Linked DNA regions of Homo sapiens: region 2 is linked to region 1. Evidence: promoter capture Hi-C in 16 types of primary human blood cells and fetal thymus (Javierre and others, 2016). All regions are on one chromosome and are shown on one strand. The core of a region is centred on a gene start or on the middle of the fragment in contact, and the rest is flanking DNA. Distances in the headings are between cores, read along the strand shown. Region 1 holds the start of ZNF561 (zinc finger protein 561). Region 2 overlaps LOC105376914 (a long non-coding RNA gene).

Evidence for each region. The method cuts DNA at HindIII sites, captures the fragments that hold promoters and counts their contacts. A CHiCAGO score of 5 or more calls a contact.
Region 2: a contact is called between a fragment that was not itself captured here and the fragment with the promoter of ZNF561 in region 1, in 1 of 17 cell types (fetal thymus). The highest score is 5.5, in fetal thymus.

What each region holds. Positions count from the first base shown.
Region 1 is chr19:9,616,997-9,624,667 of GRCh38, reverse strand. It overlaps ZNF561 (zinc finger protein 561), which reads left to right and starts at 3,436. Exons shown (of 6, transcript NM_152289.3): 1 at 3,436-3,506; 2 at 5,086-5,236; 3 at 6,489-6,577; 4 at 7,497-7,623. The coding sequence starts at 5,212. It overlaps ZNF561-AS1 (ZNF561 antisense RNA 1), which reads right to left and starts at 3,186. Exons shown (of 4, transcript NR_122038.1): 1 at 3,023-3,186. RefSeq lists enhancers at 3,107-3,526, 3,675-4,257. The HindIII fragment of the contact is 2,809 bases long and covers 3,084-5,892 here.
Region 2 is chr19:9,584,587-9,592,257 of GRCh38, reverse strand. It overlaps LOC105376914 (a long non-coding RNA gene), which reads left to right. Exons shown (of 2, transcript XR_936311.3): 2 at 1,519-1,789. Among named protein-coding and RNA genes, the nearest start is that of ZNF121, 3.9 kb to the right of the region's middle. RefSeq lists enhancers at 2,177-2,823, 7,364-7,671. The HindIII fragment of the contact is 1,971 bases long and covers 5,350-7,320 here.

The DNA of each region.
Region 1 (7,671 bases), core at 2,187-4,686:
TTTCACCATGTTGGGCAGGCTGGTTTTGAACTCCTGACCTCAAGTGATCCTCCTGCCTCAGTCTCCCAAATTGCTAGGATACAGGCATGAGCCACCGCATCTGGCAAAATACATTTATGAACCAAATTTCTACATGTTCATGGGTCTATTTTTTGATATTTTATTAGTTTCTGTTTCACGTGCTAGTACCACATAGTTTTAATTATAGAGGCTTTATAGTATGTTTTTTAAATTAATTAATTAATTAATTTTTTAGACAGAGTCTCACTCTGTCAGCCAGGCTGCAATTCAGTGGCACAATCTCGGCTCACTGCAACCTTCATCTCCCAGGCTCAAGCAACTCTCCTGCCTCAGCCTCCCAAGTAGCTGGGATTACAAGCATGTGCCACCACGCTTGCTAATTTTTGTACTTCTAGTAGAGACAGGGTTTCACCATGTTAGCCAGGCTGGTATCAAACCCCCGACTTCAGGTAATTTGCCTGCCTCGGCCTCCCAAATTGCTGGGATTACAGGCGTGAGCCACTGTGCCCGGACTTTATTTTTATTTTAAAATAATGTAATTCTTTGCCTTGCATGAAAACTGTCAATAGTATGTTTTAATATCTGCTGCTCATCATTGCTTTTGTTTTTGTTTTCTTGGTTATTATCAGATGTTTGTTCCTCCACATAAACTTCAGTATCAATGTACTTAACTCCAGAAAAAAACTTTTGGTATTTTTATTGGGAGTATGTTACATTTCTGAATAATCTTGGGGAGAATGTCTGGTATCAGTGCTATTTTACAACGTAGGAAATGTGTTCCTGGCCCATGTGGTAAGATCAGAAAAATAACAACAGAAATACATATTTTTGGCTGGGGCAGTGGCTCATGCCTGTAATCCCAGCTCTTTGGGAGGACCAGGTGGATGGATCACGAGGTCAGGACTTTGAGACCAGCTGGGTCAATATGATGAAACCATGTCTGTATTAAAAATGCAAAAATTAGTTGGGCGCAGTGGCACATGCCTGTAGTCCCAACTACTCAGGAGGCTGAGGCAGAAGAATGGCTTGAACCCAGGAGGCAGAGTTTGCAGTGAGTGAAGATCGCACCACTGCACTCCAGTCTGGGTGGCAGAGCGAAACTATGTCTCAAAAAAACAAAACAAAACAAAACATTTTTTAATTTAAATTTTTTTTATATATATATAGAGAGATGGGGTTTTGCTGTGTAGCCCAGGCTTGTCTTAAACTCCTGGCCTTAAACGATCCTACCATCTTGGCCTGGCAGATATTTTAGGCCAGGAGTTCGAGATCAGCCTGGCCAACCTGGTGAAATCGTTCTCTACTAAAAATACAAAAATTAGCTGGGCGTGGTGGCAGGCGCCTGTAATCCCAGCTACTCCAGAGGCTGAGGCAGGAGAATTGCTTGAACCTGGGAGGTGGAGGTTGCGGTGAGCTGAGATCACACCACTGCACTCCAGCCTGGTCTGATCCAGTGAGATCTGTCGCAAGCAAGCAAGCAAGCAAGAAAGAAAAAGAAAACCCAATGGAATCAGCAGGTTCTAAAAAATAAAGAATGAAGAAAAAAAGGCCTACAGAAACTCTGACTGAATGGAAGGGATAGACCATGCCATTCATTGGCAGCTTTATCAATATGGAAGAATCATGGAAAGGCTCTAGGAACATGAGGAGAGGCATACAAACAAGCTTTATATTTATATCTAAAAAGTAAAGCAGAGGTTCCTCTTCAAAGACGTTCCTTCACATTTAATTAGGAATAAATAGTAACTTCTCTTAGAAGCAAAATTTATTCAAAGACCTGTGCTAACATTCTCAAGTATCTGTGAGCCGTGATAAAGAAATCAATGTACTTTATATTCTTAGCTCCCACAGTTTAGTCTACATATTTGCCCTGGCATGCTTGTACTGGTCCAGGCAAGCATTAGGGCATAGCCTGTTCTTTTTCCTTATTTGAAGATGTTTTGACCCTTCTCAGCATTCCACAAGTTACTTCCTCCTTCCTTTGTTCTCCTCTACCCTTGCCTCTTTTAAAAAGTTATAAGTTGCTAGCCAGAACGTGAGGTCCCATTCCAGCCAGTGGAAACTGGACACAGCAGTAGGTTGGAAGCATCAGGTTATAAATGACCCTATCTCCTTTGTTTGGTGTACTCTCGTGGCAAAACTGCTGGTGAGTATACCGTTTCTGCAGGAAGTAAAAATGGCCTTGCTGAGTAAATTAAATTTATGTTCAAGTGCTAATTTCTTTATGGCACCAGGGAACAAGCATTTTGAACATGTATATTTATATATTTTTTATATATTTATATATTTATATGTATTTATACATATATGTTTATATATATATATATAGAGAGAGAGAGAGAGAGAGAGACAGGGTCTTGCTACTTTGCCCAGGCTGGTCTCAAACTCTTGGACTTGTAGAAAATGAAATAAATACAGGTTCCTCTTCAAAGGGACTTTCCTCCCAGTCTGATTGAAATAAATAGTAATCCCTCTTAGAAGCCAAATTTTCTCAAAGACCTGTGGTAATATTGTTAAATTCTGCCAGCCGTAATAAAGAAATCAATAGACTCTGTTTTTAGCTCCCACATTTTAGCCTAGATATTTGCCCTGGCATGCCTGAACTGGTCCAAGCAACTATTAGGTCATGGCCTATTCCTTTCCCTATTTAGAAGTGTTTTTGCCTCTCTCAACAGTCCACAAGTTACTTCCTCTCTTCCTTTGTTCTCCTCTGCCATTGCCTCTTTTGGGAAGTTCTAAGTTGCTAGCCAATCCAGTGAAGTACAGGAAGGTGAGGTCCCGTTCCAGCCAATGGAAGCTGGACACAGCAGAAGGATGGACACTTCAAGTTTAAAAAAACCCTGTCTCCTTTGTTAATGTGTGCTCTGGTGGCAAGACTGCCAGCCAGTGGCACCCATTCTGCAGAAAGTAAAACTAGCCTTGCTGAGATCCTTTGTCTCAGTGTTGATTTTGTGACACCAAGCGAGCACCCATTCCCAGCAGACTCAAGCTATTTACCTACCTTAGCCTCCCAAAGTGCAGGAATTACAGGCGTGAGCCACTGCGCTCGCCCGATAAAAGCTTTGGAGGAGCATCCCCCGGGGATGCGTCCCATCCCTCATCCCCGCCCTTCCAGCCCGACCGGCCACCTGAACCACCGGCTAGGCCGGGTCCCTCCTCTAAATCACCCCCCGAGTACGAGCCCCTCCCCTCGCCCACAGTTCCGTCTGGAGGCCCGGTTCTAACCTCACCTTTTTCTCTGGACCTAGTTCTGCATCCCCCTCCCTGAGCCAACCCCAGGCCCTTTCTGCACCCACCCGAGAGGAAACTAGAATTTCTGTGTTCTACCCGGTCCTACGTGGCTGAAACTGGAGCCCACGAGCCTCGCCCGGCCAGAGTGTTGAAGCGGAAGTGACGTCAGCGCACCACCGCCATCTTTTCCGGCGCTGGCTCCTCTCCGTCAGTGCGGTTTCGCCTTTATGGTGGTGGAGTCTGCCCAGGCTGTGGTGAGTTCCACCTCCTTGGCGGTCCCGGGGATAGCAGGGGGCGGCAAAGGAATGATTGCGCGCTGTCGCCTAGGAGCCTCTCAGATCCGCTTCACTTCACTCGCTTCTCCAGGGACTATCAGTCCTCCCTGTGCGTCCAGTTCGGAGAGGCTGCGCGCTCTCTCGGCTCACTGCAACCTCTGCAACCTCTGCCTCCAGGGTCAAGCAGTTCTCCTGCCTCAGCCTTCCGAGTACCTGGGATTACAGGCAAGTGCCACCACGCCCGGCTACTTTTTCTATCTTTAGTAGAGATGGTTTTGCCATGTTGGCCAGGCTGGTCTTGAACTCCTGACCTTAGGTGATCTGTCTGCCTCGGTCCCCCAAAGTGCTGGGATTATAGGTGTGAGCCACTGCACCCGGCCGACTTTTGAAAATTTTAGATTTTGTTCTTAAGTCATCTTAGGTACGTAATGAAGTTATCAATAACACACGTGGCTGGTGACTACTGAATTGTTCTGTGCAGGTCTGCACTGTCTTCTGGTCATATGGCGGGGGGGTAACACCATATACAGGAGATCAGGCTCTAGGGACAAGTATCAGACCGACTACTAGGGTTGTTTGAGTGTAGGTTTTTTTCAGTATTAAATAGAAGTAATGGGCCAGGCATCGTGGCTTATGCTTATTATCCCAGCACTTTGGGAGGCCAAGTCAGGAGGATTGTTTGAGCCCAGGAGTTTGAGACTAGCCTAGGCAATCTGGTGAAAACTTGTCTCTACTAAAACTACAAAAAATTAGCCGGACCCAGTGGTGTGCACCTGTAGTCCCAGCTAGTTGGGGGGCTGAAGTGGGAGAATCACTTAAGGCCAGGAGTTCAAGACCAGCCTGGCCAATATGGCGAAACTGCGTCTCTACTAAAAATGCAAAAATTAGCCAGGCATGGTAGTGCATACCTGAAATCCCAGCTACTCGGGAGGCTGAGGCCTGATAATCGCTTGCACCTGGGAGGCAGAGGTTGCAATGAGTTGAGATCATGCCACTGCATTCCAGCCTGGGCAACAGAGTGAGACTCTGTCTCAAAATAATAATAATAATAATGAGTGATGATACGCACCTATGGTCCCAGCTATTCAGGAGGCTGAAGTGGGAGGATCACTTGAGCCCGGGAAGTCTAGGCTACAGAGAGTTGTGTTAGTGCCATTGGATTTCAACCTGGGCAACAGAGTGAGACCCTGTCTCGATAGATAGATAGATAGATAGATAGGATAGATATAGATAGATAGATATAGATAGATATATAGATAGATAGATATAGATAGATAAATATAGATAGATATAGATAGATAGAGGTAATGATAGCTACTGGGAAGGATGGCTATGATAATTAACTGAGCATGTATATATAAAGCTACTAGAGCTACTTCTGACATATCAGTCCTCAGTAAATGTCAGTTACTGTTATTAATACTTTTGTTACTGAGTGACGGTACTGAGTGGGCAATTTTTGGTGGCCTTCACATCTGTCACCTGCAGAGACAAAGCTCAGGCATAATGTTTGATGACTGATGTTTCATGCTTGTTGTTTGATGATTGATATGAACAGGACCGCAAATAACCCTGTACAAAGAGGAATGGAGATTGCCTCTATCCACCTAGATTCATAAGCTGGCCTGAGGTGATCTTGGCATCAAGGAAGGGATGCACATCATCACACCATCAGCTTCAGAGAATGGCAGCCATTTATTTGTCCCGTGGTAAGTCTTTGTTGATGCTCTTTTTCAGAGATTCTGCTTTAGGTCACCCTCCACAACACAAGCGTCCAGTGAGCTGAGCCTGAGCAGGCATGCAGCTGGTTCTTTTAGGAGGAATTGAAGTGAACCACAGAACAGAATGCTGTTTTATTATTTATTTATTTATTTATTTATTTTTGAGACAGAATCTTGTTCCGTCACCCAGGCTGGAGTGCAGTGGTGCAATCTTAGCTCACTGCAACCTTCACCTCCCAGGTTCAAGTGATTCTCTTGCCTCAGCCTCCCAAGTATCTGGGACCACAAGCACATACTGCCAGACCTGGCTAATTTTTGTTTGTTTGTTTGTTTTTGTTTTTGAGACAGAATCTCACTCTGTCTCCCAGGCTGGAGTGCAGTGCCTGTGGTCTCGACTCACTGCAACTTCTGTCTCCTGGGTTCAAGTAATTCTCTGCCTCAGCCTCCCATAATTTTTCTATTTTTAGTAGAGATGGGGTTTCATAATGTTGGCCAGGCTGGTCTCAAATTCCTGACCTCAAGTGATTTGCCCGCCTTGGCCTCCCAAAGTATTGGGATTACAGGCATGAGCCACTGTGCCCAGCCAGAATGCTGTTTTAGAATTCAGCCCTGGTTTGTGTACCTTAGGAAATGCTACATAAGCTTCATGAGTGTTACTACTATGGGCAGATAGAGAGTCACTTTTTTTTTTTTTGAGACGGAGTCTTGCTCTGTCACCCAGGCTAGAGTGCAGTGGCACGATCTCGGCTCACTGCAAGCTCCGCCTCCTGGGTTCACACCATTCTCCTGCCTCAGCCTCCTGAGTAGCTGGGACTATAGATGCCCACCACCACATCTGGCTAATTTTTTGTATTTTTAGTAGAGATGGGGTTTCACCGTGTTAGCTAGGATGGTCTCGTTCTCCTGACCTCATGATCCACCCGCCTCGGCCTCCCAAAGTGCTGGGATTACAGGCATGAGGCACCGCACCTGGACGAGAGTCACATTTTTCAGGGTGTAAGTTTCCTTGAAAAATGAAACTATTACCCTTTACCCAACAGGCAGTTTGGCCCAAGTCTGCTTTTGTGTCTAGCTGACACAGGACTTACTATGGCATTTCATGGAAGTGTTGTGTGTGTAGTTTTCTCGAGTGTGTAGGAGCATATCGGAATTTCAAGCTAGGATGGAATGACTTCTAGGCATGAGAATGTGGGAAGGATGGGCAGCTCTGGCTTCTCATGCCTTCTTACTTTTCCACTAGGGTTTTTTTCCAGGGAACCAATCTGCCCTTTTGAAGAAAAGACAAAGGTAGAAAGGATGGTGGAGGACTACCTGGCAAGTGGTTATCAGGTAAGCAGAAAACGTACTGTTGTTAAAAATGATATGCTTTCATCCAATAGGTAGACAGATTTCTTTCTAGACAGACTCATCTTCAGAGTTTTCTTAGAGCAAATGAAGCCTTACTCAAGGACTGAGTCCCCAGATGAATTTCCCCAGGGAATGAAGTCTCCTATACATAAAATGTTAACTTGAAAATCAGTCCAGTAGCTCAGTAATTACTACTTAAGCTTGACCTTCATGGTGCCAACTGCATCTTTCTTACATTGCTGGGTGCGGTGACGGATGATAAAGCAGATGAAAGTGTCCTTTTATCAAATCATTCACTTATCAGCATTTATCAGGTATCTGCAGTGTGCTGAGGAGTGTGCTGCATAGACACCAATGGGACAGGAAGAGCTCCTAGCCTGGTTGTGCTGAGATCAAGCGTAAGCAGTGTGCAGTGGCTCATGCCTGTAATTCCAGCTACTCAGGAGACAGAGGTGAGAGGACCACTTCAGCCCAGGAGATCGAAGCTGTAGTAATCAGCAGTTGTGCCTGGGTGACACAGTTGGACCCTGTTTTTATATATAAATAAATAAACAGATTAGATAGATGATAGATAGAGGAAAATTCATCTTTAGGAAGTACTGTTCTAATCAAAATAAAAATAAAATTTAAAATTTAAAAATACAAATATTAAAAAATTAAAAATAGATCAGCAAAAAAAGATTTAAAAAAATTTTAAAAAGTGCTGTTTAAGGCATATGCCTGTAGGAGGTCAACCTTGAGTGTTTAGACACAAGAGCTCCTGAGACATTAAACCCTGGAGTAGATCATGGGAGACCTGACAACCACGTGTAAGTGAGTATAAGGTTCCCCTTCATCATTCTCCAGTGAATATTGGTGGAAGTGTTCATTGGCTCAAACCAGCATGTGTATGATGACATAGGATTCAGTGACGTTTGATGATGTGGCTGTGGACTTCACCCCAGAGGAGTGGGCTTTACTGGACACAACTGAGAAATACCTCTACAGAGATGTGATGCTGGAGAACTACATGAACCTGGCCTCTGTGGGTAAGAGTAACATCACTATGCTTGGCATGGTGGCCTGCACCTGTAGTC
Region 2 (7,671 bases), core at 5,086-7,585, 35 kb after region 1:
GGTTTAACACTGACCACTGATAATTCACTCAACCCAGCAGGTTTCCTACAGGGAATCCAAATCTAAGGAGAGAACACACATGTTTAGATTTAATTGATTACCATAGAAAGGTTCGACCAGACCTAGGAGAAACCCCCTTCTGGACTGGAGGGCACTTATTCATAGATGGTTCCTCCTGGGTGATTGAGGGAAAAAGACACAATGGGTATTCAGTGATTGATGGAGAAACTCTCATAGAAATAGAGTCAGAAAAATTGCCCAACAGTTGGTCTGCTCAAATGTGTGAGCTGTTTGCACTCAGCCAAGCCTTAAAGTACTTACAGGACCAGGAGGGAACTATCTATACCGATTCTAAGTACACCTTTGAAGTGGCTCATACATTTGGAAAAATTTGGACTGAACGAGTTCTCATTAATAGTAAAGGTCAAGACCTTGTTCACAAGGAGCTGATCACCCAAGTATTGAATAATCTTCAGTTGCCGGAAAAAATAACTATTGTCCATGTTCCCGGACAACAGAAAAACCTCTTTTGAAAGTCGAGGAAATAACCTAGCAGATCAGGTAGCCAAGCAGGCTGCTGTGTCTTCTGAAATGCATATTTTTCACTTAACTCCCTACCTCCCTCCTCCTACCATAATCCCCATTTTCTCTTCCACCAAAAAAGAGAAACTAATAAACATAGACGCTAAAGAGAATTCAGAAGGAAAGTGGATGCTGTCAGACCAGAGAGAAATGTTGTCCAAACCCCTTATGAGGGAAGTCTTATCCTAACTACATCATGAGACCCACTGGGGGCCCCAGGCCATGTGTGATGCAGTTCTCAGAGTTTATAGTTATATAGGAATTTATACTCTGGCCAAACAGGTTACAGATAGTTGCTTAGTATGTAAGAAAACTAATAGACATACTATAAAAAGATTACCTCTCGGGGGAAGGAATCTGGGCTTAAGGCCATTCCAAAGTATCCAAGTTGATTACACAGAAATGCCTCCAATAGGTCGTCTAAAATATTTACTAGTGATAGTAGACTACCTCACTCACTTGGTTGAAGCTGTCCCCTTTTCAAATGCAACAGCCAATAATGTAGTTAAGGCCTTAATTGAAAATATAGTACCCAGGTTTGGACTAATAGAAAATATTGACTCAGACAATGGAACTCATTTCACCACACACATTATTAAAAAGCTATCCCAAACATTAGACATTAAATAGGAACACCATACTCCCTGGCACCCACCCTCATCAGGGAGAGTAGAAAGAATGAATCAGACTCTAAAGAACCACTTAACCAAATTAGTCTTAGAGACTCGATTGCCATGGACCAAGTGTCTTCCTATCGCCCTGCTGAGAATTCAAACTGCACCACGGAAAGACGTTGGTCTTTCTCCTTATGAGATGCTCTATGGATTACCTTATTTGCACTCCACTGCTGATATTCCTACCTTTGAAACAAAAGATCAATCCTTAAAAATTATATACTTTGTCTATCTTCTATTCTCTCTTCTCTTAAAACTAAAGGTCTATTAGCACAGGTGCCACCCTTAGAGTTCCCAGTGCATCATCAGCCTGGGGATCATGTCCTCATCAAGAGCTGGAAAGAGGAGAAGCCTGAGCCAGCCTGGGAATCTCATTACTTACTGCTCCTCACTACTGAAACCGCAGTCCGCACGGCAGAGAGAGGATGGACTCATCACACCAGAGTCAAGAACGCGCCACCACCTCCAGAGTGGTGGGCCATAGTCCCAGGGGAAAACCCTACCAAACTAAAGCTAAGAAGAATTTAACTGTCTTTCATCTATTCTATTACTCTTTCTTCTTTCCTCGCTCTGTTGCTGACCATCTAGTTATTAACATAACCAAGTCAATTTTGCCTCAAACTGTTGCATTTAATGCTTGCCTTGTTATACCCTGTGGGGATTTGTCAAGTCAAAGGCAGCTCACTACTTCAGAAAAGCACCTCTGTCCCTCCTGGCTCTCCTCAGACTGGGCATTAGTGAATTAGGACCATTTAATCTGGGAGATTTCCATAAAGATCCCAGTGGAAACCAGGAGTCTTGACCCCAACCCCCGATGTAGAGCTTTTATGCCGTAGTTGGTCCAACGTTCTGTGGACCACCAAAGAGCAAGGATGGACTGCCCTAACCAGTTTTTGGAATTTCCTAAAACCATACATTCATTTACTAAAGGGACAGCCCCCCCCAACTGTCAGCCAAACCAGTGCAACCCTATACAGGTTAGTATTTTGAGCCCCAAAGTTCTCCTTTTCTAAGCCAGTTCCTTTCTTTAAGCCGGTTTTATGGTATAGGGGCTGAGGTTTCAAGGACAGACCCTACTGGATTCTTTGAAATGCGTTTCTTTGATCTCCCGCTGCCTGCACCTGCCTCTTAGCCTTTTTCCAAAACCTCTCACAACGGAACCATTGTTCCTCCTCCATCTAAGGACAAGGCCATGATAGCGATGGTAGAAGTTAAAGACTTAAACTTTGGCAATTGAGACAGGATACCAAGATGTAAATACCTGGTTGGAATGGATCAAATATTCCATCCGCATGTTAAACAAAAGCAATTGTTATGCTAGTGCGCACAGCAGGCCAGAGGCCCAGATTGTCCCCTTTCCACTAGGGTGGTTCTCCAATAGACCGGGCATGGGCTGCATGGTAACTCTTTTCCAGGATTCTACAGCCTAGGGTAAAGAGTCATGCCGACTCTCTGTCTCTGCTATATCCTGAAGTTCAACAACATGCTGGTCAGCCCCCGAGGGCCATCCAGCTTCCATCTCCCAACATTAAGTTCACTTCGTGTCTCTCACAACAGAGAGGAAACTTAGTGTTCCTTGGAGACCTGAAGGGATGCAGTGAGCTTAAGAACTTTCAAGAGCTTACCAATCAGTCAGCCCTTGCTCATCCCTGAGCGGATGTGTGGTGGTATTGTGGTGGACCTTTACTGGACACTCTGCTGAATAACTGGAGTGGCACTTGTGCTTTAGTCCAATTGGCTATCCCTTTCACCCTGGCATTTCAGCAACCAGAGGGAGGAAAGATAAGACTTCGTAAAGCAAGACAAGCCCGTTATAGGTCTTTCAACTCTCACGGCTATTTAGATGCAATTGGAGTCCCACGGGGAATACCAGATCAATTTAAAGCCCAAAATCCAATAGCTGCAGGATTTAAGTCAATATTTTGGTAGGCGACAGTTAATAAAAATGTAGATTGGGTGGGCCGGGCGCGATGGCTCATGCCTGTAATCCCAGCACTTTGGGAGGCCGAGGCGGGCGGATCACAAGGTCAGGAGATTGAGACCATCCTGGGTAACGCGGTGAAACCCTGTCTCTACTAAAAATACAAAAAATTCACCGGGCATGGTGGCAGGTGCCTGTAGTCCCAACTACTCAGGAGGCTGAGGTAGGAGAATGGCATGAACCCAGGAGGCGGAGCTTGCAGTGAGCCAAGATCGCACCACTGCATTCCAGCCTGGGTGACAGAGTGAGACTCCATCTCAAAAAAAAAAAAATGTAGATTGGGTAAACTACATCTATTACAACCAACAGCGATTTATTAACTACACTAGAGATGCTGTTAAAGGAATAGCTGAGCAATTGGGGGCTACTAACCTGATGGCTTGGGAAAATAGGATAGCTTTAGACATGGTATTAGCAGAAAGAGGAGGAGTTTGCATCATTATTAAAACTCATTGTTGCAACTTCATCCCAAACAACACGGCCCCTAATGGAAGTATAAGAAAGGCATTGCAAGGCCTGACTCCTCTATCCAATGAGTTGGCCAGCAATTCAGGGGTAAATTACCCATTTACAGAATGGCTAGAAAAGTGGTTCGGTAAATGGAAAGGAATAATAGCCTCAATTCTCACCTCCCTTGTAGCCGTAATGGGTGTACTTATCCTTGTCAGGTGCCGTGTCATACCATGCATCTGTAGGTTGGTGCAGAGGCTCATAGAAATGGCACTTACTAAAACCTCCTTTAACTATCCTCCACCTTATCCAGAGAAGCTCCTTCTTTTGGAAAATCAAGCAGAACAACTAAGTCAAGACATGTTAAATAAGTTTGAAGAGAAAGCCATAAAAAAAATGCAAGAGGAGGAAGTTGTTGAAAATGAATTATAAATTTCTCTTCAAAGAATTAATATGTCAGTATGCTCAATTCTTTGCCTTCTACTTTTAAACTTAACTTCCTCATAAAGCACCCTTTTCCCAAACCGCTCACTCCATCACTCTCTTTAAATTAGTCAATCGGAATTAGTTTAGCCTGTGAGGTCCAACCCTAGCCAGTAGGGGAACGACAGAGCAGTAGGGACCACGTGTGTCAGGAATAAGAACCCCTTTCCCTCCCTTGTCCAGGTGTGTGCCCACCATTGCTCCATCTGTGAGAGTGCACCCTTCTATAGAAGTATCTTGCCTTGCTGAGAATTAAAAAGAAAATTTTATATTCAAGTGTTATTTCTTTTGTGGCACCAAAACTTTATATGTGACAGACTGGAAGTTCAAGAGCAGCCTGGGCAACATAGAGAGATCTCTTCTCTACCCAAAATATTTTTAAAAATTAGCTGGATGTGGTGGTGTACATATGTATTCCCTGGTACTTGGGCAGGAGGATTACTTGAGCTCACAAAGTAAAGGCTGCACTGAGCAATGATAACGCTACTACACTCCAGCCTGTGTGACAGAGTGAAACCCTGTCAAAAAGAAAAAAAAAAAGTAGAATGTGATTTTAAACATCAGAACTAAACAGAATGATATGCTCAGAGAGGTTTCCCTATCCCTATCCTCTCCATTTTGTTCTTATCCCACCATTCTGTTCAAGCCCTTCCCATCTATCCCCGATAGATTCTGAATCTTATTATTTTCAGGATAGTCCTATCAGTGTTTCCCTGTACTCAGAATGAACAGATAATTACATATTTTATTTTTATTTTTTTGAGACTGAGTCTCACTCTATCGCCCAGGCTGGAGTGCAATGGCGCGATCTTGGCTCAATACAACCGCCGCTTCCCGGGTATAAGCAATTCTCCTGCCTCATCCTCCCGAGTAGCTGGGATTACAGGCGCCCGCCACCATGCCCGGCTAATTTTTGTATTTTTAGTAGAGGCGGAGTTTCACCATGTTGGCCAGACTTGTCCTTCAGAACTTTTTAACTGGAAGATATGCTGCCAGGCTGCTGAGCATCGTCACTTAGTCATATAAGCCCCCTCTTTGATTCCCCTTCTCCTCTGGGAGTCTTTCTTCCTTTCCACCCTTTCTGAGCAGCGACCCACAGGTAGAAGCCTGTGGATATTCTCTTGCTGTTTGCTACCTCCCGCCACTCCTTACCTGTCAAAGCACATCCCAAATGAAGCTTGTGTGCTACTGCCGCCTTGTGGTCACGTCTTTTTCCTTACTCAGCCAAGAAATCACTTACACCCTGAATGCGTATATGGTTTTATTTTTCACATTTAGATCCCTAGTCCATTTAGAGTTTATTCTTGTATATGCTGTGAAGTATGGATTTAATTTCATCTTTTCTCTGATGGCTACCCAGCTGTCTTAGACTTTCCATTACAAATGGCTTTTTTTGCCTCATTGATCTGAAATACCTTTTTTTTTTTTTTTTGAGATGGATTTTCACTCTTGTTGCCCAGGCTGGAGTCCAGTGGCGCGATCTCGGCTCACTGCAACCTCTGCCTTCTGGGTTTCAGCGATTCTCCTGCCTCAGCCTCCCGAATAGCTGGGATTACAGAAAGCCCACCACCATGCTTGGCTAATTTTATTTTTGTATTTTTATTAGAGACAGGGTTTCACCATGTTGGACAGGCTGGTTTCGAACTCCTGACTTCAGGTGATCCTCCCGCCTCAGCCTCCCAAATTGCTAGGATTACAGGTATGAGCCACCGCGCCTGGCAAAATACCACATTTATGAACCAAATTCCTACATGTTCTTGGGTCTGTTTTTAGATATTTTATTAGTCTGTTTCTGCTTCATGTGCTAGTACCACATAGTTTTAATTATAGAGGCTTTATAGTATGTCTTATTTATTTTTATTTTAATATAATTTAATTATTTGCCTTGTGTGAAAACTGTTAATAGTATGTTTTAACATCTGCTGCTCATCATTGCTTTTGTTTTTGTTTTCTTGGTTATTATCAGATATTTATTCTTCCACATAAACTTTAGTATCAACGTACCTAACTCCAGAAAAAACTTTTAATATTTTTACTGGGATTATGTTACATTTCTGAATAAACCTGGGGAGAATGTCTGGTGTCAGTGCTATTTTACAATGTAGGAAATGTGGTCCTGGCCCATGTGGGAAGATCAGAAAAATAACAATAGAAATACATGTTTTTGGCCAGGCGTGGTGGCTCACATCTGTAATCCCAGCACTTTGGAAAGGTGAGGCAGGCGGATCATGAGGTCAGGAGTTCGAGACCAACTGGGCCAATATGGTGAAACCCTGTCTTTACTAAAAATACAAAAATTAGCCGGGCATGGCGGCGCCTGCCTGTAATCTCTGCTACTCAGGAGGCTGAGAGAGAAGAATCGCTTGAACCCGGGAGGCAGAGGTTGCAGTGAGCAAGATCGTGCCACTGCACTCCAGCCTGGGCAACAGAGCTAGACTCCATCTCAAAACAAAAACAAAAACATATTTAAAATTTTTTTTAAACAGAGACGGGGTCTTGCTGTATTGCCCAGGCTGGTCTCAAACTCCTGGCCTCAAACGATCCCTTGGCCTCCCAAATTGCTGGGATTATAGGCATAAGCCACCATACCCAGCCAGAAATACATACTTGATGAAGACAAAAAAAAATCAAGATTTACAGAAAATATTATTATATTGAAAACGTGGCCGGGTGCGGTGGCTCATGTCTATAATTCCAGCACTTTGGGAAGCTGAGGGAGACAGATCATTGGAGGTCAGGAGTTCGAGATCAGTCTGGCCATCATGGTGAAACTCTTCTCTACTAAAAGTACAAAAATTAGCTGGGCGTGGAGGCAGACATCTGTAATCCCAGCTACTCGGGAGGTTGAGGCAGGAGAATCACTTGAACCCGGGGGGCAGAGGTTACAGTGAGCCGAGGTCATGCCACTGCACTCCAGCCTGGGCAACAGAGTGAGATCTGTCTCAAAAAAAAATAAAAAATGAAAAAGAAAAACGAAAAAAGAAAACGCAATGGAACCAGCAGGTTCTAAAAAATAAAGAATGAAGAAATAAAGGCCTACAGAAAGCCTGACTGAATAGAAGAGATAGACCATGCCATTCACTGGCAGCTTTATCCATATGGAAGAATCATGGAAAGGCTCTAGGAACATGAGATGTATACAAACAAGCTTTATATATATGTATACACACATATATATTTTAATAAAGGATGTTGCTATTTTGCCCACGCTGGTCTTGAACTCTTGGACTCAAGCTATCCACCTGCCTTAGCCTCCCAAAGTGTTGGACTTACAGGCCTTAGCCACTGTGCCCACCTGGGAAAAGCTCTGCAGGAGCATCCCCTGGGGTGCGTCCCATCCCCCACGCCCGCCCTTCCAGCAGGTCCGGCCACCTGAACCGCCGGCTAGCCGGGTCCCACCTCTAAACCGCCCCCAAGTAAGGGCCTGTCCGCGCCCACCCGGGAAGAAACTACAATTTCTGTGTTTGACTGGGTCCTATGTGGCTGAAACTCGAACCCAGG